2 separate regions of the Homo sapiens genome follow, and region 1 is linked to region 2. The links are contacts of gene promoters, found by promoter capture Hi-C in blood cells and fetal thymus (Javierre and others, 2016). All regions are on one chromosome and are shown on one strand. The core of a region is centred on a gene start or on the middle of the fragment in contact, and the rest is flanking DNA. Distances in the headings are between cores, read along the strand shown. Region 1 holds the start of ROBO3 (roundabout guidance receptor 3). Region 2 holds the start of HYLS1 (HYLS1 centriolar and ciliogenesis associated).

What was found. Contacts are between HindIII fragments. The CHiCAGO score rates a contact against its expected background, and 5 or more counts as called.
Region 1: the fragment with the promoter of ROBO3 here is called in contact with the fragment with the promoter of HYLS1 in region 2 in 2 of 17 cell types (naive CD8 T cells and non-activated CD4 T cells); the score reaches 10.2 in naive CD8 T cells.

Annotation. Positions count from the first base shown.
Region 1 is chr11:124,860,764-124,866,953 of GRCh38, forward strand. ROBO3 (roundabout guidance receptor 3) reads left to right here and starts at 4,669. Exons shown (of 28, transcript NM_022370.4): 1 at 4,669-4,974. The coding sequence starts at 4,815. RefSeq lists enhancers at 2,144-2,645, 4,985-5,661. The HindIII fragment of the contact is 17,224 bases long and covers 332-6,190 here.
Region 2 is chr11:125,886,257-125,891,546 of GRCh38, forward strand. It overlaps HYLS1 (HYLS1 centriolar and ciliogenesis associated), which reads left to right and starts at 1,412. Exons shown (of 3, transcript NM_001134793.2): 1 at 1,412-1,509; 2 at 5,167-5,216. RefSeq lists an enhancer at 1,120-1,169 and silencers at 1,310-1,359, 1,450-1,499, 1,600-1,989. The HindIII fragment of the contact is 13,277 bases long and covers 1-5,290 here.

The DNA of each region.
Region 1 (6,190 bases), core at 3,419-5,918, 1.0 Mb before region 2:
GGCCATAAGAAGACAGAGGCAGAGATGGAGTGATGAATCCTCAAGACCAGGAAGGCCAAGCACTGCTGGTAATCAGCAGATGCTGGAGGAGGCAAGAACAGATCCCTCCCTGGAGCCTTCAGGGAGAGCATGGCCCAGCTGACACCTTGATTTCAGGCTTCTAACCTGTGAGAGGATACATTTCTGTTGTTTTAGGCCACCTAGTTTTTGGTACTTTCTTACAGCAGCTGTAATGCAAAAGGAGAGAGAGAGAAGGCTAGTGGGCTCTGCAGGGGTAGTTGTGAGGACTAACTATTTAATCAGGTATAGTCACCAAGTGTATATTTATGGAAGCTTGCTCTGTATCTAGTTTTATAAAAAGAACCAAGAAAGCTCTTTTTCTCCCTGGACTTTGTTTTATCTGTATTGGGATGTGAACATTTCTGCCCAGTTGTCTCCAGATTTCCAGTCTTGGTAGAGTGTGTTGCAAAGTGTCTCCCCACAGTCTCCTCCACTGGAACCCTGTGGGGAAAGGGGGACTTTCATGCAGGGGGCCTTGGCTTATTATCTCAGCAGCTATAGGGGTTGAGCCAACACACTCTGGCTCCTGCCGGGGGCAGGCTCCTGCTGTCTGCTTTCCAGCTGGGTGCCTGCTCTTTGCTCTCTGATTCCCCCTCCTGTTTGGTTCTCTGGCCCCTGCTGGCTGGGTCGCTGCCCCCTGGCATCATCACTCTGAAGCCAGCAGCCCTGCTGGGCCATTCACAGGCATACCCTAGTGGGGGTAAGGGGCAGATGTTATTTCTTTGTCCCCCTCCCAGCAAACACACACACACACACACACACACACACACACACACAATCTCACACTCAATATGTATTAATGTCCTGGGAAGGGGTCCAGGCAGAGAGTGATGGCAGGCTACAGGCTCTGGGGGGATGCAAATGGACCGGACAGTGTGTGTGTACATTGGGGGGAGGCAGTGGTAGTAATGGGGGGTTGTCTTCAGACTGCACTCCTGGGCAATTACATGCCAGCAGCTTCATCCACTACCAGCCGGCATGCAGGCTTTAGACCACCAAGAAGCCTCCCCATATGGCCCCAGCTTGGCCACTGAAAATTCCCAGCCACATTCTCTGGCCGATATGCTGGCACTAGGCCAAGAAAGTTAGCCTGGGGTAGCTGTTCTCTCCCCTAGCACGTGAACACACACACACACACTCACACACCAGTGGGGGGTGGGATGGAGAGTTCCTTTAGAGGCTCATGATTCCCAAAACACCACTCTTGTGTAGGGTTCCTGCCTTACTCATAATCACTTGCCCTTCCCATTTCCCATGTTCCTCTGCAAATCCACCCACCCAAAATACCACCATAGGAAAGAAATATTCCTCTTCTATATTACCTCATCAACTCCTGGCCCAGGGCTCTTTTCTAGGGCTCTACCTGTGAACCCACACATGCACACACACGCAAACACACACACACACACACACTTCTTCCCATCAGATGCTGTAACCTTATCAGAACAAACTTAGCTCCTAACTCTACAAATTCAACTCGCCCCAACCTCCCTGCTTCCTGCTACTCTCTCTTCTTTCTGCCAAATCTCCTTCAAAACCTCTGTTTCTTTTTCTTACCCTTTCTAAAGTCTGGACTGTACATATTGTTGGTAAAACTCTGGGAAAGAAGTAGTTTCCTGAGGTGGTAGAAGAGAGGGTCTCTAAACCCAACTCTGACTCTTTCTCCAGCCCAAGGTGGAAATTTATAAGTCAACAGAATGAATGCACCCCGGCTGAGGCTCCTCCAATTGCAGGGCATCTACTCAGTGTTTTAGGTGCTGTACAGGCACTTACAGTTGACAAATTAGGAAATGGACATAGTTGCAAAGAGTTGCATACCCACTCCAGAAAAAGGACAAAGAGTTGTCTTGGTAATTTTCAGAGAGCAGAGCAGGCAGTGAGGAGACTAGTAGGAGGCAAACCCCTTTCAGAACTGCCTATGGGGGTAGCCAGGAGAGAAGCTGGATGTGGACAGGGGCAGGGCCAGTTTCTAGGCTGCCTGTCTGACCCTCAGTAAAGAAGAGAAGGTGGGGAGAGGGCTGCAGAAGAGCTGGGAGGTGTGACTTCTGCTGGGCCTTCTCTGCCCACTCTCTGCTCCACTCTGCCTAGCCCAGGGCCGTAAGGACACTAGAGAATGGGAAGGAAAAGGGAGGGAACTTAGGTTATGGTTGGGAGGTATTTATTCTCTGATATCCCCAGTTGGGAGAACTCAGCCCTCTTGGCTTAGATCTGAGTTTGGTTTAAAAGGAGAGTATCATCAAGATAAAGAGAAGTACAAAGAAGGAAAGAGCAGAGAGAAACAAGAAAAAGTGGAGAGTGAAAATTAGAGAGAGCCCAGACGAGGTGAAGTGTAGGAGAGACAGCAGATTCCTGGAAAGTAGAGTGGCCCGGCTATTTGTCCAGCCTCCAAACCCACGTGACAGGGACTGTGAAGCAGCCTTGCTCACGGGTTGAGCCGCGCCTCCGCTCAGGGAACCCTGAGCAAATACGCCCTGATCCCCACATAAAGGGCCAATTAACTGCGCCGTCTCCGGGAACAAATCCGCTAACAGGGTGACAAGCCCCTAGACGCTGGCAGGCCCTGTGTTTGCGGAGAGGCCAGCCGGGAGCAAATCAGGGCATTAGGACCGGGCAGGAGCCGCATGGTGGGAGGGTTTCTGGCCCCCTCCGCCCCAGAGTAGGGCCTGGTACCAGGACGTGGGGTTTCTATCCCGATTCAGCCTCTGCTGTGATGGAACCCAGGTGACCGCGGTCAGCAGGGGGCGGAGCAAAGGGCCCCGGAGCCTCGAATCTCACAGGTCAGAGTAGATCAAGCACTCCAATTCCTCCTTAACAGATGGGAAAACTGAGATCCAAAGCGGTGACGTCTTGTACTTGGCAAACGTAGAATTAGAACCCACTTCTGTGTTGGTCATTCCTGAAGGATAGATTTCGGGTGGGAAATACATCCCTTACTTTCTCTCTTATCTGAATACCACCCTGGAGCGAGGAAGGGAGGGGCGTCAAATCTCTTATTATCTTCTTGCTTTTGAAAGGATGTGTCTCTAGCCCGTCTCCCACCTACCCCAGTCCTCAGCCTCAGGGTCTGCTCGGATTTATGTCTTCCCTGGGGGCTCCAGGGCCCTAGTCAGGCACCTGCAGATGAGGTGCTGAAAAGGACAGCTCCCAGGGCGCTGCGTGGCGGTGGGGTGGGGGGTCCATCCGGCCCCACCCCCACTCCCACCTACCCCCTCCCCCACACCTAGTGCTTCCAGCCTTTCTACGTCCCGCCCAGAACTGCTAGGGTTGGAAGGCACCTAAACACCCATAGTTGGAGGCTCACAGCCAGGCGCCTGGACTGAGGAAGGAGGCTTGGAACAAGCCCCCCACCCCTTGACAATGTCTCGGGTTCCCTTGAACAAGCTCTGCCTGAAATATTTCAATTCTTGATTCTGCTTACTCCAGAGTCTGCGACTGTATAGCACCCACCCCTCTGATCTCGACCCCTTTGGGGTCAGAAGCAGTCGCCCCATGAAAGTTGTCTCATCCCAGAACCTGACGGCTGAGCCAGAACTCTGGCACTGACTCTTCAATCAGCAGGGCCTTACCTCAGGTTAGGAATGCCCCGGCCTCTCTCTTTCCCTGATACCCCAAAGCCATCTCCTGTCTAGGAAAGTGAGTTTGTCGAGGTGGGTCTTCAGGTAGAAAGAACTCCAGAAAAGTCAGAAGCAGACCGCGACTGGAAGTGGGAGGTGGGAGTAGGGGCCCATGGTTTTCTTTTCGCCCCCCCCAGGAAGGACGACTGCTATCCGATTTGAACAGATTTGCACTAATTTTGCAGCAATCCCACATGCCTTTACAAAAATAATATTATCTTTGTTTTTGTCCTAGAATCCTTGGTTCCATTTCAGTCTCCTCAAAAACGTAAAACAATTTAATAAAAAATGTCAAAGCAGGGTAATGTAAAAGGATTCAAATAAATGACAGTTGCCTGGGTTTCCCTGGCTTTCAGTCTCCTACAGGAACTCCTAGATTAGGGCGTTTGGAGCAGGACTCCCGGGTCAGGGCGCGCCGCTCCATCCTCTGGCCTCCTGGCTGCAGACCAAAGGACCAGAGGGCAGAGAGGTGGACCTGTCTTGGAATTCTCTGCCTACTCCCAACTCTTGCTGCAAACCACCCCAGTCTCCTGCCCTTCCGTCGCCAAACCCCTAGACTTGGGAGGGAATGGAAACCAGAACTTTGGCAGCAAGGAGCATTGCTTGCGCTTTGCCTCAGTTTCCAAAAGGTTCGGGAAAAGAGAGGACAGATTCCTGTTCTAAAGTTGGGCAGAAGGGCAGAGTCCGACAGAGCCTCGTCCCTCATCTTGGGTGCTTTGAGACAGGGAAAATCTCTCGCCGCGTCCAGAACGGAACGCTGGGCTTGGGGTGCGGGGCGGGGACTCCAACTCGCGCGCTACGCTACTCGTGTCTCCTGCTCGGATAGTGACTGTAGAGGTAAGGGTGGGAGGGTGGAGGGAGGCGGATTAATCCCTTAATTACGCCGTGATCGGCGTGGCACCTGCTTTCCGCCTGCCCAGCTCCCAGGGGACTCCGGCACTAGGGGGTGGAGAGAAGGACGAGGGAAGGAGGAGGGCACGAAGAGGCACCGACCGTACCCAGGCGCACCGGCAGGAGAGCGGCACCGTGGCTGCCGCAGCGCGCAGAGGCTGTGGAGGGGCTTACGGCTCCCAGCCCACGGGTCTCAGACCCAGGGGCTGGGCCCCCAGCCCCCAGTCCCGATCCCAGCTGGGTCGAGCCATGCTGCGCTACCTGCTGAAAACGCTGCTGCAGATGAACTTGTTCGCGGACTCTCTGGCCGGGGACATCTCCAACTCCAGCGAGCTGCTCTTGGGCTTCAACTCCTCGCTGGCGGCGCTCAACCACACCCTGCTGCCTCCCGGCGATCCCTCTCTCAACGGTGAGACCCTGCCTCTTGGGGATATGGGATCCTGGGATGGGGATGAGGTGAGAGGGCGGCGTGGAAGGGAAGGAGAAGCGCTCCTGTCCCGAGGTCCGGGATTGAGTGGCGCCTCCCAGCGCCTCCCTGGGTCGTGGGGTCTAAGGGATAATTTGGAGCTTCGAGCACATGAGTGGGGGTACCCGCGGGAGGTCGAGGGCTTGGGAGAAGATGGCTACTGAGTCTTTTTACACCTCCTTCCCTTCCCCTACAACGCCCACCCCAGGTGAGAAGAACCGTTGCTGGTAACGGGCAGGGAAGTCCGAGCTAAGAAAGGCCCGGGCCCAGCGCAGGGAGGGCAGAGGAGGGGGCACAGTCTCCCGCCGGCCTCGGCCAAGCCAGGTCACTCGGTGACCCACCCAGGCAGCTGGTCTTCGGAACCCCGAAGTTTCCCAAGAACTCACTTAGGACCAGAGGAAGCCAAAATGCTGGATGTGTTTGCTACGGAGGGGATAGGGGCGGCGATCATTTTAAGGAAACTTAGAAGTTTGTCTTTCAGCGGCGGGACTCTCAGCCGGCCCACCCCGGCAGAGCTGTGGCGGGCGGGCGGAGCTGGCGGCGAGGTCGTTACCGCTAATTACGGTGATTAATAAATGACTGGGACAGCGCGCTCTCCCCTAGCGCCGCGGGGAAGCTGCGGGAGCCGGCCGCCGCCAGCCTGCGGAGAGGCCGGAGCGCGCCCCCTGCCTGCCGCATCGGGAACCCCCGCTTTACCGGGCGCTTTCGCGTGTGGTTCCCTCCAGGTGCACGCGGTCCCCATCCCTCTGCCTCGACCCACTCGAGTCTAGTGACGAGCACTGTGCTGGGGACTCGAAGGTGGAGAGAAAGGAGACCCTGGCAATATGTGTGTGTTCATGTGTGGGGCACATCAGGTGCTGAGGGAGGAGCCCCAGAGCCTCATTAGCATGGCCATTAGCTATTCATTAGGCTGCAGTCGAAGCATCTCCTGAGACCGGGAAGGGTAGAGGGGGAAATTCCAGGGAAAGGGCGCCTGCAGCTGTGTCTACAGGAATTAGGGGGAAAAGGCCGACCAGAAGGGTGTGGTCCGTATAGAAGGATTGGGGAGAAAGACGATGGGGGAGGAGCCCGATTCTCCAACCTCTTGACCCTCCTAGATTTCCAGGAGGTTAAGCACAGATCCCTTCTCGCTGGCACCCCGCAGAGTCCCGCTTCTGCT
Region 2 (5,290 bases), core at 162-2,661:
TTCTTCCTCCCACAAATTCAAAGTGCCTTAGAGGTAGCACAAAGGCCCTGAGGCAAAGAGGGAGAGTAAGAGATAATACGAAGTGTTTGGAGGAAAAGGATTAAACATTTCTCCCCTCCCACTGAATCCTGGATTTAAGAAATGGTGTAAGATGAACTTGACAACTAGCACCTATTTGTTTAAGGTGGAAAATGCAATGCTCAGGACTCAAGACCAGTTGAGATAGGTTTGCTTGGTATTGACTAGGATATTGAACCCTGAGGGCCTCTCCTCTTGCTTTTACAGATCTCATCCTCAGCAATCCCCAAGCACTAGATTTTTTTTTTTTTTTTTTTTTTTTTTTTTACAGGTACAGATGCAAAAAGAGTTAAAACATCGGGTTTAAAAAAAAAATTAGTGGCTGGGCACAGAGGCTCACAACTGTAATCCCAGAGCTTTGGGAGGCCGAGGGGGTAGAATCACCTGACTAACATGGTGAAACCCCATCTCTACTAAAAATACAAAATTAGCCGGGCATGGTGGTGCTCGCCCGTAATCCCAGCTGCTCGGGAGGCTGAGGCAGGAGAATCGCTTGAACCTGGGAGGCAGAGGTTACAGAGAGCTGAGATCGCGCCACTACTCTCCAGCCTGGGCAACTGGGCAACAAGAGGGAAACTCCGTCTCAAAAAAAAAAAAAAAAAAAAGTTGAGAGTAACACCATGTGAAGGAGACAGGCACATTCCAAAAGAAAACAAGTGCATGTCGGAGCAAGGCAGTCGGTGGCTGGAGCACAGTTAGAGTAACGTGGGAGGAGCTGTGGAGACGCAGCCACGGGTCACGCCAGGGCCCTGCACACCATGCAGAGGAAAGGAAGAGCTCAGTGCGCCAGGGTTTCATACAGCCGCTCTCTCAGGCCCCAAGGAAACGTCTAGAGCGCACAGGCGGACTCACCCCAGACTGTTCGAACCGTCCCTGAGCGCCCGCCCTCGTCTCCCGGCACCACTGGCCCCGCAGCAGCCAGTTGAGAAGGGCGGAGGCTGATTCCAATGAAGTGGCAGACCGTTAGGCGGCCTCTCCAAAAAGCCAGCTATGTCGCCGTTAGCCAAGGTTTGAGGGTCTTCTCCTTCTCTTCGAGGGCCCAACCTCCCCTCCAGATTTAGTACACCAGAGGCGTCGCAGCAACGGCTGCTGCCTGCGCGCCTCAGCTAGGCGGGCTCGGATATTTTTAAGGCCACATTGGAAATCCCGGGCATGCTCCCGCCGGCGGAGAAGGCCCAGACAAAATGTGCGCCAATCAGGATACAGACTTGGAGGACGTTTACCCTCAGGACCAATAAGAGGGAGGGCGGACCGGGCCAAGGGTGCCGGTTCGCTCTCCGGATTTAAACCTCAGCGGTCGGCGGTTAACCGCAGGCTCGGCGCGTGGGCCGGCAGTGCGCCTGCGCAAGTTACGCGAAAGCTAACAGAATCTGCGGTGCTCTGCTGGCGACTGGCAGGACGCGGTGCAGAGAGCGGACTTCCGCGACGCGGGTAAGCCGGGCGAAGGCCGGAAGCGGAGGGACGCGGGGACCTGGTGGCTGCCGGCCCACTGCGGCGGGAGCCCTCGCTCCTTTTCCCACCGTCGGGACGGTGCAGAGTGGCAGCTTCCCTCCGTGGATTCCAGGTCCTGCCTGGCGAGCCGTCCCCAACGTCTGCGTTCCTGAGGGAGGCGGCCGGGGCAGCGTGAGCTACAGGCGATGTGCGCGGCGGGCCGCAGCCCCTGGAGGTCACGGTGTGCGCTGGCCGCCGCCGCGGTCTTTGCCCCGGTGGCCTTTCTGAGCTCCTGGGCCGCGCCCCTGGGACCAGGCGGAGGCCGGGGACGGCCCCAGGGCTGGAGGGGAGTCCCGAAGGCCGCTAGCGACCTGGGTCCAAGCCACGCCCACGGCCAGGCGGGGCGACTGCGAGCTTTGCCGTTGAAAGGCGGAGCGTGTCTTGTCGCCTTCTAGCTGCACCTTTTGTGGACTGCAGCATGGAACCGTCCAAGGTGTTTGTCCACCCCGAAATGGAAATAAATCTTTTTTATTCTAAACAGTATACAATCTCACTAAGCAGGCAAAGAAAAACATTAAGATATCTTTTTAGATTGGTAAGATTTTTCAGTACCCCATGCTGCTGAGAGAGTGAAGAAATGAAAGCAAGCACCTTTATGGCCTGTGTGCTGGGGATAATCTGTTTTTCTAGAGGGCAGTTTGGCATTATAAATCAGAATTCAGGCCGGGCGCGGTGGCTCACGCCTGTTACCCCAGCACTTTGGGAGGCCGAGGTGGGCGGATCACGTGAGGTCAGGAGTTCGAGACCAGCCCGACCAATACGGTGAAACCCCGTCTCTACTAAAAATACAAAAATTGGCCGGGCTTGGTGGCGGGCGCCTGTAGTCCCAGCTCCTCGGGAGGCCGAGACAGGAGAATCTCTTGAACCCGGGAGGGAGAGGTTGCAGTGAGCCGAGATCGCGCCACTGCACTCCAGCCTGGGCGACCGAGCAAGACTCTTGTCTCAAAAAAAAAAAAAAAAAAGAGAAAAGAAAAACATAAATCAGAATTCAAGTAGTACCATAACTTCTAAGTCATAATCCAATTCCAGGAGTTTATTCCAAGGACATAAATCGGACAAGAATGCAAACATAGTATGTACATGTTTTTAGCAATCCGAGCAACATTTAGTACGTGTAAAGAAGAAAGAAAATACTCGAAATTTCATCAGTCACAGATAACCATCAAACACTGTTCACATTTAGGTTTACTTCAGATATATTCATAATATATACCTTATATTTATGTGATTTCCTTATAAAATGTGTTTTAAATAATTGCATGTTACAAATATAATAAAGTATGTTAATTTAAAAGAACGTCAGTTAAGCAGATTATACATTATTGAGTCAGTAATAAATTGGGAACACATTTCTCTGTCAGTGTCGATACGCATTACCATTTTTAATGGATGCGTGGCGTTTGTTGCTATGGCTGTATTGTATCATATATTATTTAACCAGTCCCCTACTAATGTACATTTGTTTCCAGTCTCTTCATAATCATAAAATGGTATGGTAGTGGTCACTTGTATGTATACATGTTTGCATTCTTGTCCAATTTATGTCCTTGGAATAAATTCCTGGAAGTGGATTATGACTTAGAAGTTGTGGTACAGTTTAAATTCTGATTCAAAATGCCAAACTGGGCCGGGCGCGGTGGCTCACACCTGTAATCCCAAGCACTTTGGGAGGCGGAGGCGGGCGGATCACTTGAGATTGGGAGTTTGAAACCAGCCTGGCCAACATGGTGAAACCAAGTCTCTACTAAAAATAGAAGAAAAATTAGCCGGGCGTGGTGGCAGGTGCCTGTGATCCCAGCTACTCGGGAGGCTGAGGCAGGAGAATCGCTTGAACCTGAGAGGCAGAGGTTGCGGTGAGCCGAGATCAGGCCACCGCAACTCCAGCCTGGGCGACAGAGAGAGACTCGTCTCAAAAAACAACAACAATAATAATAATGCCAAACTGCCCTCTGGAAAAACGGATTATCCCCAACACACAGGGCATAATAAGGATGCTTGTTTTTATTTCTTCACACACTTGCCAGCACCGGGTACTGAAAAAATCTTATCAATCTGAAATGATGTCTTAATGCTTTTATACACATTACTGAAATTGAACATGTTTTCTGTTTATTAATTTTTGTTGCTGTTTAGAAACAGACGTTGGCTTTGTGCCCAGGCTGGAGTGCAGTGGCCAGATCATAGCTCAGTGCAGCCTCAAACTCCAGGGTTCAAGCGGTCCTCTTGCTTCAGCCCCCATAGTACTGAGACTACAGGTTTATGCCACCACGCCTAGCTAATCTTTTTTCTTTTTTTTTGAGAGATGGGGGTCTTGCTGTGTTGCACAGGCTGGTCTTGAACTCCTTCACAGCCTCAAGCGATCCTCCCACCTCAGCCTCCAAAGTGCTGGAATTACAGGCATGAGCCACTGCGCCCAGCTGTTTGTTAGTTATTATTCGTTTGGTACGGCATCTGTCTTTTCTCCCCTATCTTACTGATAATGTGTACCCTTTAATAGCTTTCTAAGAGGAATTCAAATTACTGATTTTTAAACGTGTTACAAGTATTTCTCCCAGTTTGTTGTCTCTTTTGCCTTCATTATGGTATTGTTTGCCTTTGTGGTAGGATGTTTTGTTTTGTTTTAATACTGTGATTCTTTAAGCTGCTTGCTTACCTCCCCAGAGGTGGAGAAATTTGTTATAACTCTGCAATAGCCTCCCTATAGCAGTCTACTGACCCAGTCCCTTTATCTCATTTTGAAGTCTTTGCCCCTTCTACCCTTGAAATCCTTTTGATTGTAACTAGCTAACCCTAGGATGCTGAGTCACTAAGACTTTTGAAGAGAAGATATGGTTAGGTATTTCGGTCAATGTTGTCTGTGTTTACAGAATACAAGTTGCTCTAGCTTTTATGTGAAAGTTTCCCTCTAAAGAGAAAGGATTGTTCGATCTTTTATATTAGAAAGAGAAGGAACTGACAGTTACCTATGGACCTTATTAAAGTTTCTATTTTATTTATTGTTTGCAAACATCATCTTCATATGTTCAAGGAAAAAAATAGGAGTGTGACACAGTTGAAATGCAGAGGAAATAACACATTAATCACTGTATAGTAGGACACATGCCATTAAAAAAAAAAACTAACTCTTGGCTTTACTGCCAAAAATCCTCCTAGCCCAGAGTCTCACAAATCGTTATTTATGTATAAATATATAAAAAGTGTCATTTAAATTTCACAACCTAAATAGTTCCTTTATTCCAACATTTATTTAGTCCTTACCATGGGCCAGAGACTTCGGATTTGTACAAATGCTGTCTAAGAGAGCAAGTACTTTTGCAAAGTTGCATTTGGGGGCTTCCCATTTGTTCCACCTGTGATGACTGTCTTGACTTTTTCTATGGCAACTACCAAAAATGTAGTCACTAAATTCTTACTCTTCTAGATTGGATAATATAATCTAGCCAGACTTGAAGGGATTTTACTTAAGATCTAAGACCCTGATCTTCTGATTCCTTTGCTTCTACACAGTATCCTAACAATGACTTATGGTTAGTGCATTTTGTTCCATGTATCACTGCTTCAGAGTTAATTTTTTTAAACTCTATTCTTCTTTTCTAGGTTTTTTTTTTACTTGAATGTAAATACCAATCAAGATACATTGAAATAAGGTAAGAAATTGAAAAAAAAAAAAAAAAACCTTGGTTTGCACTTACATATTTAAGTTATTCCACCATGATCATTG